Linked DNA regions of Homo sapiens: regions 2 and 3 are each linked to region 1. Evidence: promoter capture Hi-C in human tissues and cell types (Jung and others, 2019). All regions are on one chromosome and are shown on one strand. Each heading gives the region's core, a stretch centred on a gene start or on the middle of the fragment in contact. The rest is flanking DNA. Distances are from core to core; before and after follow the strand shown.

What was found. Contacts are between HindIII fragments. The study calls those that stand out against the background at their distance.
Region 2: a fragment that was not itself captured here is called in contact with the fragment with the promoter of PDCL in region 1 in 1 of the 25 tissues and cell types used here (hippocampus).
Region 3: a fragment that was not itself captured here is called in contact with the fragment with the promoter of PDCL in region 1 in 1 of the 25 tissues and cell types used here (lymphoblastoid cells).

What each region holds. Positions count from the first base shown.
Region 1 is chr9:122,826,491-122,830,679 of GRCh38, reverse strand. It overlaps PDCL (phosducin like), which reads left to right and starts at 2,092. Exons shown (of 4, transcript NM_005388.5): 1 at 2,092-2,209; 2 at 3,888-4,064. The coding sequence starts at 3,893. RefSeq lists an enhancer at 1,896-2,190. The HindIII fragment of the contact is 7,303 bases long and covers 1-4,189 here.
Region 2 is chr9:122,234,001-122,238,189 of GRCh38, reverse strand. RBM18 (RNA binding motif protein 18) reads left to right here. Exons shown (of 6, transcript NM_033117.4): 6 at 1-568. Among named protein-coding and RNA genes, the nearest start is that of LHX6, 7.1 kb to the right of the region's middle. RefSeq lists a silencer at 654-854. The HindIII fragment of the contact is 6,020 bases long and covers 1-4,189 here.
Region 3 is chr9:122,284,416-122,288,604 of GRCh38, reverse strand. MRRF (mitochondrial ribosome recycling factor) reads right to left here. Exons shown (of 7, transcript NM_138777.5): 4 at 3,318-3,436. Among named protein-coding and RNA genes, the nearest start is that of MRRF, 22 kb to the right of the region's middle. The HindIII fragment of the contact is 3,862 bases long and covers 334-4,189 here.

The sequences.
Region 1 (4,189 bases), core at 843-3,342:
CGAGAATTGCGCCACTGCACTCCAGCCTTGGCAACAGAGTAAGACTCCGTCTTAAATAAATAAATAAATAAATAAACCAGTGTCGGGCAGTTCTTTATAGCAGTATGAACTGCCTGACACTGGGTTATTTATTTACAGCAGTATGAAAACGGACTTATTAATACAGTATTCTTGAATGGGTGTGTGTTTGTGTGTGGTATTTTTTGACTCCTCTGAGGGCCTCAGCAAACAGCCTCTCTGAAAACAGGCAGGTACAGAAATTTGCAGACAATTTCAGGTGGTCCTAGAACCACAAATTAAGATCCCCTACCCCAAATTAAGAGCCCTATTTTAAACAGTGTATCTTTCTAGAATATTTTCTATGATTCAATTTACCCAAAGCTTTCTATGAGCAACTTCACGGTTGTGTATTGGATACTTCAACAAGGGCTCAGAATTTGAAATCATTTTAGGTTTTAAAAAAGTTGCAAAAACAGACGACAAAGTATGCCTGAGGAAAAAGAAAAAAAAGTTGCAAAATATCATAGTATGGCTTTACCCTGGAAGAAGAAAACAAAGTTGCAAAAATAGGATAGTGCTTCCCTAGATTCTTCATCTAATAGAATCTCCAAAAGTTCACATCTTACATAGTATAATTATTAAAACTATTGATACAATACTACTAATATGAATTAATAGGCCTTATTCAAATTTCGTCAGTTGTCCCATTCATGTCCTTTTTATTTTTCTTTTTTGAGACGGAGTCTCAGTCTTGACCCCCAAGCTGGAGTGCAGTGGTGCGATCTCAGCTGTCTGCAACCTCCGCCTCCCGGGTTCAAGCGATTCTCCTGCCTCAGCCTCCGAGTAGCTGGGATTACAAGTGTGCACCACCATGCCCGGCTAATTTTTGTATTTTTAGTAAAGACGGGGTTTCGCCATGTTGGCCAGGCTGGTCTCGAACTCCTGACCTCAGGTGATCTGCCCGCCTCGGCCTCCCAAAGTGCTGGGATTACAGGAGTGAACCACCGCACCCGGCCCCATGTCCTTTTTCTATACCAGGAGCCAATTCCGGATTTCACATTACATTCCTGCTCTGTCACCCAGGCTGGCCTCCAAGTCCTGGGCTGAGCGATCCTCCCGCCTCAGCCTCCTGCGTAGCTGGGACTACAGGCGCGCGCCACCACTCCTGGCTGCCGCTTCTTTAAAATGGTGAAACCCCGTCTCTACTAAAAATAGAAAAAATTAGCCGGGTCTGCTGGCGGACGCCTGTAATCCCAGCTACTCTGGAGGCTGAGGCAGGAGAATCTCTTGAACCCGGGAGGCGGAGGTTGCAGTGAGCCGAGATCGCGTCACTGCACTCCAGCCTGGGCAAGAAGAGCGAAACTCCGTCAAAAAAATATATATATATATTTTAATCTATGCCCTGTACTTGAGGGATTTGTGCTCTCGGGCAAATTACCGAACGTCTCTGAGTCACTTTTCCGTCTAATAGACGTGATGCGATGAAGAACCAATAAAAAACACACTTTGAATGGCTTCGGAAACTTCGAAGGGAAGTGAATACATTTTTCTTTTCTTTCTTTCTTTTTTTTTGAGACAGTCTCGCTCTGTCGCCCAGGCTGGGGTGCAGTGGCGCGATCTCGGCCCACTTCAACTTCTGCCTCCTGGGTTTAAGCGATTCTCCTGCCTCAGCCTCCCGAGTAGCTTGGATTACAGGCGTCGGCCACCAGGCCCGGCTAATTTCTGTATTTTTAGTAGAGACGGGTTTTCAACGTGTTGGCCAGGCTGGTCTTGAACTCATGACCTTAAGTGATCCGCCCGCCTCGGCCTCCTAAAGTGCTGGCATTACAGGCGTGAGCCACCGCGCCCGGCCTGTGAATACATTTTTCTTATTGCTTGACGCTGGGTCATACAATTCACTTTTTTGTTGTGCAGATTAAAACCAAAACAAAGCAATTAGGAGAGCGTTGTTGTCGAGGTGTTTTGTTCCAAGGTAGGACCCGTAGCTTCTCCCCTGCCCCTCAGCTGGGAGTAGCGGCTTCTGATTGGACAATGCGCGTCCGCCACGACGCAGGAAGGCCGCCTCATTGGTCCGCGCTGTCGGGCTTCGGCGGCTTTTCTCTTTAGCGCTCAGGGCGCTGACCCACTGCTCTTCCTCTTAAGAAAGTGCTCCATTCCTTCCGGCGCCCGGAGCTGCTGGCCCAAAGGGATCCGGAGCGAGCTAGGGCAGGTAACTGCATTGGGGTCCACCGGGAAGCGGCAGCAGCTGCGGACTACGGGAGGGAGTGGGGTTGGCGAGCTTGGGTAAAACTGCCCCTTCTTCGCTCTGTCTCGACCCCCAAGTTCTCCGCGTCTTCCTCGTCCCCTTTCCTCCTCTGGCCCCACCTCCCCCGGGCCCTTCCAGCCTTCCCCCAAAAGCTCCACACACCCCTCTGCTTCCCGTCCGGGGGCCCCGCCTCCTCTGCTCGCGTCTCCAGGGGGCCCGCCCTCGTCTCCTCCCCGCAGCGGTCCCTCCTTTAGGAGCGCAACTCCTTCCCTCCCCTCCGCCGCTGCTGTGTCCCCCGCTTGGCCCATTCCTGGGCCTTAAGTTTGGTTTTGTTCCTTCTTGGCACCTCCACCTGTCTCTCCATGATCCCTGTCTCCTTTGCATCTGACTGCTGGAGTCCTCCGATTCTCCCGTTGACCCAGGCTGCGAGTTTAGCAAATTGTGCAGCGGCATTGTGCTGGGCTTTGGGGATAGAGGTAGTGACTAGAGGTCCCTACGTTCAAGAACTCCTTGCCCGGTGGGAGAGAGTCACTTTGTAAATGGAGTATGATAGGCCCGGTGATAAGTCTTTAAGGCAGCCGCATTCCTGCTGAATTCTCAAGCAGGCCTCTGGGGGCTAAGCTGCATCTTTTCATCAGAATGCCCTTGGCTACTTCTGATGCAGAAGCCTGGTCCTTTATATTTTTAGTTTTTATTTTTTTTTGAAACAGAGTCTCGCTCTGTCTCCCAGGCTGGAGTGCAGTGGCGTGATCTTGGCTCACTGCAACCTCCGCCTCCCGGATTCAAGAGATTCTCGTGCCTCAGCCTCCTGAGTAGCTGGGAAAACAGACACCCGCCACCACACCTGGCTAATTTTTGTTTGTTTGTTTGTTTGCTTTTACTAGTAGAGACAAGAGTTTCGCCATGTTAGCCAGGCTGGTCTCGAATACCTGGTCTCAAGTGATCCTCCCTCCTCGGCCTCCCTAAGTGCTGGGATTACCTGCGCGAGCCCGGCCATCATAGTCCTTTAAACCCTTGGGAGTTATTAAAATCTTTGTATGGGCCCTTCTTTTAAACTGTCAGAATAGGTAGCGTTTCAGAGACCATCCATCCAAGCCCTCAGGGTGTTGTCTGGGAAGTTGAAGGCTGGTGACAGAGAGTGATTGCCTAGACAAATAGTGACTCAGCATTGTACTCTTGATGCCTCTTTTTGGGGTTTTTCCTGAGGATACTTAAACAATTTTTCAATTAGGCAGCAGTCTTAGCTGGTGGGAAAACTAAAAGCACAGATAAAACCACTAGTCAGTAGATTCCTCCAAGCCAGTGCAGGTGGCTTGTACACTTAACTCAGACTAGAGTAATTTATACCTCAGGCTCTTGGAGTCAGGAATCCCTGGGGTCTGGTCCCAGCTCCGTCATTCGCTGTTAAGCTTGGTGAAGACTCTTCCTTTATCTGAGCTTCAGTTTTACCTTCTGTTAAAGAGTGTGATAAGCCCTAACACACAGGGTAACGGTAGGGATTTGTTAAGATTTTGGTTATGAAAATAATCACTTTAGTGTCCTGGAAATTGTAGGATCTCAGCACAGGCGAGCCCCCTATGCTTCAGATTCATGTCTGTCTGGCTCAAATCAGCAAAGAACCTGATATGCTTTCTTTTTCCAGACACCATGACCACCCTTGATGATAAGTTGCTGGGGGAGAAACTGCAGTACTACTATAGCAGCAGTGAGGATGAGGACAGTGACCACGAGGACAAGGACCGAGGCAGATGTGCCCCAGCCAGCAGTTCTGTGCCTGCAGAGGCTGAGCTGGCAGGCGAAGGCATCTCAGTTAACACAGGTACTGAGAAACCCTGGGCTCTGGGAACAGGCTTAAAAAATGTACATTAAATACATATTAATTAAATACATATTAATAAATTAATTCTCCTGATCACTTTTAACTCTGGTCCCACTTTCAGAGGT
Region 2 (4,189 bases), core at 1,211-3,710, 590 kb after region 1:
TTTGAGAGCCAAAGGGCCTTAAGAGACCATCTCATATAGCCCCCTCATTGTCCAGATGGGGAAAACGGGAACCCAGAGAGACAAAGCGATTTGGCCAGGGTCACCTGGTTAATGGGAGAGCTTTAGGTAGAACCCAGGCCTGCAAACATCTAGTCCAGTGTTCAGCAAACTGGCCTCTGCCTCCTAATTTTGTATAGCCTACAAGTTAAGAATGATTTTTTTTTCATTTTCGAGTGGTTGAGAAAAAAAGTAAACAAAATATATATACTATATTGTGACATGAAAATGATACGAAATTCAAATCTCAGTGTATGTTAATAACTATTAGAACACAACCATGCCCAGGCATTTACATGTGGCTGTTTTCCCCATATAATAGAAGAGTTGAATAGTTGGCAATGAAGACTGTGGCCTACAAAACCTGAAATATATACTATCGGTCCCTTTACAGGAAAAATTTGCCAAACCCTACTCTAAACAATATTCCATGACTGGAAATGTGTTTTCTAAAATTCTCGTATTAATGCAGAGAATAAAAGCAACAGATGTCAGAATGATGTGCACCGAATATTGTTTCTTAGTCAATGTCTCTGACCCCTTACACATCTTTTGGGATAGAGAACTGGCTGTGCCAGCCCTAGTGGCATCACTGTACTGCTTAAGGCTATCAATGTGGGCTAAATCCTCTCATTGTCCCTGTGAGGAAACTAAGGCCGTAAGAACTTGGGCTTCAGATTTAGACTTGTAGCCCCAGCTATGTAAGCAGATTTGTCAGGACTCCCAGCTCAAGTGACAAAAACACTACTCCAACTCCCTTGCGGTAGAACATGTATTGGTTCATGTAACTGAGAAGTCCAGGTGTTCAGTGAAATGGTTAGGATTCTGTCTATCTCTTGATTGTGTTTTCCTCTGGGTTGGTTTCATTCTCAAGCAGGCTCTTCCTTGTGGTCTCTGGAGAGACCTCTTGAATCCCAGGTTAAAAAGAAAAAAACAAAAACCCAAAAAAAACAGATCTGTCAGAATTTATCCGAGTACGCAGGTCTGTGTCTTCTTTCCTCTGCATTCAATCTTAAACTTGGCTAAGATTACTGATTATGCTGAATGACATTTAATTTTTACATGCCCTGTGACTTTTCTAAACTAGAAGCATAATTTTAAATTTTCACCTTAAAAAACAAGTTATGTGTTCCTCTTCTGAAAACAGGCCTATCCCATTTGAGAAGCTTTCTGGTGGGCGACCTCATCAGAAGGAAGGTTACTCATTCCTGAAACAGATGGCATTTGCCATGTGTGATGCGTGGAGGGTGTAAAGATGATGAGGCAGGAGCCCTGTGCACTGTGATGTACCGTGATAAAGGGACGACTCAGCAGCTTCAAGACACCAGAGGATGGGAACCAGGCTGGGAATGGGACATGGTGACATAGGTGATTTCCCCCCGAGCTGAGCGGCCAAACGATGTTTAATAAGCTGCGTAAACGGTTTAAGGGGGACGTTGAACAAAGAACAAAGCCCCAAAGTGAGAGATATTAAGATTTAATCTAAGTAAGGAGTTAAGATACTTCCAAATACCTAGAACCATAGGATAAGCCAGGTTTATGAGGCCTTCTACAAATCAGTCCCACTAGGCATTCTCCTAACCAGACTAAACTATTTGTGCACCCTAAACATGATGGACTCTCCTGGATTCCCCTGTCCTTGTACAAGATGTGCCTTCTACCTGGGAAGTCCCTTCTGCCCACCCCCACCACTTGTCTAACAGATATTTTCCCACCCATGCTCATTCCTATAAGGCAGTTAATTGCCTTTCTGCGTCTTAACGACCTGGGTCTGTTTTAGCACTTATCACTACATATAATGTGCTTTATAATTTAAAAAACGATTCTCACCAAAAGTAAGATGAGTTTCAGGGGCAAATTACCTCCCAGAAAGCAAACAAGCCAACTCTCTTCTCATAGATGGGGTAAATTCCAGCTGCTGTAAAATCTCCACTTCCAAGGCTTCCGCTGCTATCCCTACCCTGATATCTCTGAAATTCCTTCTCTTAGATCCAGGCTCTCTTCTGAGCTGCAGAGCCATATGTCCCGTTCACTCCTGGGCACTTCCACTTGAATATTCCCTTGGTACATTGACTCAAAACCGAGCTCATGGATCCCTCTTGCCCTTCCTCAATTGCTCCCATGTTCTGTGTCACTGGGAAAAATAAAATAAACTATTAGAAACCTGAGAGTTATCTTGAACATTTTCCACTCCCCCACTCCCTATATCCAGTCTCCTAAATGTTATATAGCTGATGATATCATATATGATACATTTGTATGTATTTATACCATATATACTACATATATATGATTCTATATATAACCTTAATATGTAAAGTTGGTTAGACGTGGTGGCTCACGCCTGTAATCCCAGCACTTTGGCCAAGGCAGGCAGATCACTTCACGCCAGGAGTTTGAGACCAGCCTGGCAAAATAGTGAAACCACGTCTCTACTAAAAATACAAAAAATTGGCTGGGCACGGTGGCTCATGCCTGTAATCTCAGCACTTTGGGAGGCCAAGGCAGGCGAATCACCTGAGGTCAGGAGTTGGAGACCAGCCTGACCAACATGGAGAAACCCCATCTCTACTAAAAATACAAAATTAGCTGGGCGTGGTGGCACATGCCTGCAATCCCAGCTACTTGGGAGGCTGAGGCAGGAGAATCGCTTGAACCCAGGAGGTGGAAGTTGCGGTGAGCCGAGATTACGCCATTGCACTCCAGCCTGGGCGAGAAGAGCAAAACTCTGTCTCAAATAAACAAAAGCAAAAGCAAAAAATTAGCTGGACATGGAGGCACGTGCCAGTAATCCAGCTACTCAGGAGGCTGAGGCATAAGAATCACTTGAACCCAGGAGGTAGAGGTTGCAGTGAGCCGAGATGGTGCTACTGCACTCCAGCCTGGGCGACAGAACGAGACTCTGCCTCAAGGAAAAAAAAAAAAAAGATGATTAGAAAACTGGATGTGTTGTAGATATGTATATGATGATATACAACATAATAAAGTAAAATAATAAACTTTTAATTATTTTATTTCTGTTCATCCTCCTTGTTCCTGCAGCTGCCTCATTCCTTCTCCCTTAGATTACTAGTTAATAAACGTTCAGTATTGCTGCAATCAATTAAGTACTTACCCCTTCAAATCTATCTTCAAACCAACTACTTAAGTCATCTTTCCAAATCTCCAACTTCACCATGTCATCTCCATGCTGACAAGCCCCTCATAGTTCCTATTTTGAAGTTGAAATTCCTTGGCATTCTATAGAAGACTATTTGTGAGGCTATGTGTAAGCTGTATCTACCCTCTGCTGGAAAAAGATTAATACGGGAGATTTATTTTCAATCATGTGGTCAGGGTAGAATTCTCTGAGGAGGGAACATCTAGCACCTTGAGGATCCCCACTTAGCTAGTGCCTTCTGTGTGACCATTACCTCATCTTCTTAGTGGTAACAGTGATAACAATGTCTCTTGGTGGCCAAGAACTTAACTCGTAGATGCATCATGGTCTCCTGGTATCATCACAGCACTTGTCAATGGGTTATCTATTAATCCCCATTTTACGGTTGAGGGAACTAAGGCTCATAGAGTTTGTGACTTGCCTTCGGCCCCCCAACCAGTGTGTAACAGGGTCAGGTTATCAATATAGGCCACCTGGCTCCAACCCCGGAATCCTTAACCACTGTGCTGTGCAACTCCTGCAGGATGCTGCTTCCTGTGTCACTGTAGGCTTGTAGACTCCAGCTTCCAAGATGAATCTAACCTCGTCAACACTCAGCTCCCCACAATCTGGCTCCTGTCTACTTCCCTAGCCTCATCTCCCTTTGTTGCCCCAGCAAACACTAACTGGGCCGCCACTCTTTATCCTGGTCCAACTCCTTTCTGCTCTTGCCTGTCTGTACTTACTCATCCTTCAGGACTTATCTGAAACGTCACCTCCTCTAGGAAGCCTTCCTGATCCACCACCCATAAGCCAGGTTAAGTGACCCTCCTCCTTGCTTCTATAGCACCCTTTGTAGCACCTGTCACACTGCACTGAGTTGCTGGCTTTCTTCTCTCTTAAGAGACTGTGGGCTCCTCAAGGGCAGGGACAAGGACAGCTTCCTCTATTTCCTGGGCCTAGTGTGGAACCTGGTATGGAGTAAATGCTTCA
Region 3 (4,189 bases), core at 1,015-3,514, 540 kb after region 1:
CAGCACCTCAAATAGAAACTAATCACTTGCAAGGACTCAAAAAATATGTGCTGAATTAACAAACGAATGGTGAAAGGAGCACAGGCTTTTTCACATCCAACAGAGATATGTTCAAATCCTGGCTCTGTCACAACAGTGTAAACCTAGTGGAAATATTTTACTGCTTTGAGTCTCAGTTTCCTCATCTATAAAATGAAATAAATAATGCCTAATTTTACAGAGTACCTGTACTGATCATAGGAAACAAAACATGAGAAAGAGACTAGCAACAAAGCAGACAATCAATACACATTCATTTTCTTCCTTCCGCAAGAGCAATAATGGTGCCTGCAGAGTTGTGCGTGGTTTTTTATTTTTATTTTTTTTCATTTGGCTTGTTTTGTTCAAATCATGCTGTGGTTTTTATTCCCTTCTTTTCTTTCCCATCATTAACTCTAGCTGCAGGCAAGTTTATGGAAGGCAGCAACTATGTGTATCATTTATCAAGCAGGACACATGTTAAACAAATGCAACACAGTTTTCTGTCTTCAATGCATTCAAAAAGATCATGCATGTAAATCTGCATCGTGTCACTACAGCATGACACGGAAATGCTCAGGTTTGGAAAGAAAGCCAACTGTATGTGAAACAGAAATTACATAAACACAGGATTAGCTCAGCATTTTAAAGCTATGAACCTGGGTACTCTACGGTCAGCTTCGAAGCTGGAGGAAGGAAATCTTTAGTTAGAGCTATTTGTTTAATATATACAACAGACGAGATAAAGGAATTCAAAAGACAATGTAACTCACACTTCCTCATTCTGTTCCTGTAAATGAACCTCTCTACTGATATACTTGTAAGGATTTTTTCAAAACCCATGGAATTTCAACTTGAACAAATGGCAAAGATGTCTGAGTTGAAAAATGAAGATATACCCCAACTTCCTAAGAAAAAATTAAGCTGTTAATATCTCCTCCTGCTTCATAAGATGCTCTGGTGGCCAATCAGGTGCTTCTTCTGTGAATGCCATTTGCTATTTAATAAAAGAAGTGGCTGGCTCTGAAAAGCAATCTGCCTGATGAGGTCTTCAAGCTGTGTAATTAGGAGGCTATTCCCTAAATTGGCCCACAGTGCCTACGGGATTAGATGAACAAGGAGGAGAGGCCTCAGTGGTTCAGAGGGGCCCAGAAAGAGAAACAGTTGACAGTTCCCTTTTCATCAATTTCTCTGTTCCTCACTAACATCAGAAATGAGTGCCTCCCTTTTATCAACCTAATAACAGGTATTCATCCATTCAAGGAAAATTTACCAAATGGTGCCATGTGCCAGGCACTGTTTGGTGTTGGACACAATGAGCAAATTAGACATTCCTACATTCCAAGCTTACACTCTAGTAAAAGTGAGATGAAAAATAAATGTGTACACAAATGTACACTAGTAATAAGTGCAATAAAGAAAAAGAATTGTGCTGTATAGGAGAACTTAGTGTGGAAGAATAATTTAGATTGGAGAGGTCAGGAAAGGCTTCCTTAAGAAAGTGACGTTTAAGCCATGATCCAAAATATAAGTAGCAATTAGCCATGCAACAGTGTTCCATGCAATGGGAACAGGATATGCAAAGGCTCTAAGGATGCAAAGGGTTTGGTGTGTTTGAGGAACTGAAAGACCAATGTGGCTAAAGCATTGTACAAGGATGACAGTGGCACAAGACTGGCAAAACTGAAAAAACAGAGGCAAGATCAAGCAAAGCCATCTAGGCCATAATGAAGATTTTGGACTGTTTCTTGGCCACAGTGAGGATTTTGGACTGTTTCTTAAAGATTGCTAGAAGCCACCAATAAAGGCAAAGCATGGGAATGACAACTGACAAAATCTTTTATACATATATTTTTTTTTCCTTGTTTATTTAAGATACAAGGTCTTGCTCTGTCACCCAGGCTGCAGTGCAGTGGCATGATCATAGCTCACTGCAGCTTCAAACTCCCGGACTCAAGCGGTCCTTCCACTGCAGTTTCCTGAGTAGCTAGCACTACAGGTGTGTGCCATCACACCTCACTAATTTTTTTATTTTTGAAATTTTTGTAGAGCCAGGGTTTCACTATGTTGCCCTGGCTGGTCTTGAACTCCTGGCTTCAAGTGATCCTCTAACCTTAACCTCCCAAAGTGCTGGGATTACAGGCATGAGCCACCACGCCTGGCACAATATATATTTTTCAAAAACTCATTCTGGTTATAGTATGGAGAATGGAGTAGGGGAGTGGTAACAGCACACCCACAGGTGTGCCTGGCCCATTAGCTATCAGAGCCCTTTGATTTGAAACAGTGTGTTCACAGCAAGGGCTTTCCCTTTCTCCTATCTCTAGCCTAGTTTGTCAAATACAACAGGTCCAACCTTGGTCTATGACTTTGGAATACAACTACTGAAATAGACAATAAGAACAGGAGGATTCCTTCACCTTATATTAGCAGATGAGGAAATGGAGGCCCAGAGAGTGAAGCAACTTGCCCAAGGTCAAACAGCCAGTTGGTGGTAGAGATGGGACCGGATTCCAGGTACTCTAAGACTCCTAATCCAGGCCAATTCCTAGTGGACCAATAACAAAAAGCCCAATTACCTTCTTCAACTACACTTAAAATCATAAAGCTTCAAAGATGCAATGACCTAATACAACCCACCTTCCAGTTTTGGAAGCACTGTGCTCCATGCAATATTCTGCAATGGTCAGTCTAGTATAAAAGGACTTCCTGGAGGGTCTGCTCCAAATACTAATGCAGAGGTCACAAATTGGTGGCCCTCAGGCCACATTTGGCCCATTAAAGTATTGTTTTATTTGCTTCATAGTCTTTAAAAAAAAAACTCAATTAGTCATCAACATTTACAGAATAAAGATGTCACATAAAAATTTGTGTTACTAGCTTCTTCTGGAAATAAAAATCGTAGTATCAGGTAACACTGATTACCAGGCCTACATTGTGCCTGGCAATGATCAGCAGGAGCTGGGCAGAGGCATTCCACTCACACAAGGTACAGGCTCTCCAGCTCACCAGAGCCTTTTCACGCTGGCCAAGCACCAATCACTGCATCTCCAGTATTGTTTTTCTTAGATGGGACCCGTTTGGGTATTCAAACAACTTACCTAGCCTCTGTAGCATCTGAGTTTAACAGAAAAGGAATCTGGCAACAGGAAAAGAGCTTTGCCTTATCCTTAAGTTCTCTTTATTATGTCTTCTCTCTTGTTTCATCCTAAGCTGAAGGAACACTTCCTCCTGATATGACCCAGTCTCCTCCATTCCAAAAGAGACCACGGAGAGAGATTTTAGCAAGGCCATCTTACCTCTGGGAAGCTGGCCATATTCACCAAAATCAGCTGTGGCGACTTCATGGAGATCTGGCTAATCTGGTTTAAAGCAAGCTTCCCGTCAGCAGTTACCACAGCAATCTTGTCAAGGGATCCTAAAAGAAAAATTACAGAGTTTTAGAATTCCAAAGAACCTTAGTAGCCCCAAATCTAAGTCCTATCTAATTCAGATTCAGGTTGGATGCAGTGGCTCATGCCTGTTATCCCAGAGCTTTGGGAGTGAAGTGGGAGGAATGCTTGAGGGCAGTAGTTTGAGACCAACCTGCGCAAAACAGCAAGACCACATCTCTACAAAAACATTTTTTTTTAATTAGCAGGTATGGTGGCATGTGCCTGGAAGATGAGCTACTCAGCAATGAGGCTGAGGTGGGAGGATTGCTCAAACCCAAGAGGTAGAGGTTACAGTGAGCCGTACTGGCCACTGCACTCCACCCTAGGCAACAGAGTGAGATCTTGTCTCAAAATAATAATAATAATTCAGATTCAACAAACATTTAGGGATTCTTATCAATGTGACAAGAGTGTACAAGGGGCTTTCACAGGAACAGCAGTATCGTGATAGAAAAGCTTGAAATGTTGACAGAACTAAGTTGGAATTCATCACCAGCAACTAGGGTGGCCAACCATCCTGGTTTGCCTGGAGCTGAAGAATTTTCTGTGACAGGGCTTTTAGAACTAAAACTGGAAACAGCTGATCACCCTCACAAGCAACTCTGTCATTTACTTGCTATGAAACCTCAGGTGAGTTATTTATCTTCTCTGTGCCTTGGTTTCCAATTCAGTCAAAAAATAACTACCTTAGAGGATTAGAGTGAGGACTGTACCTCTTACTATCCCTTTTAGTCCTT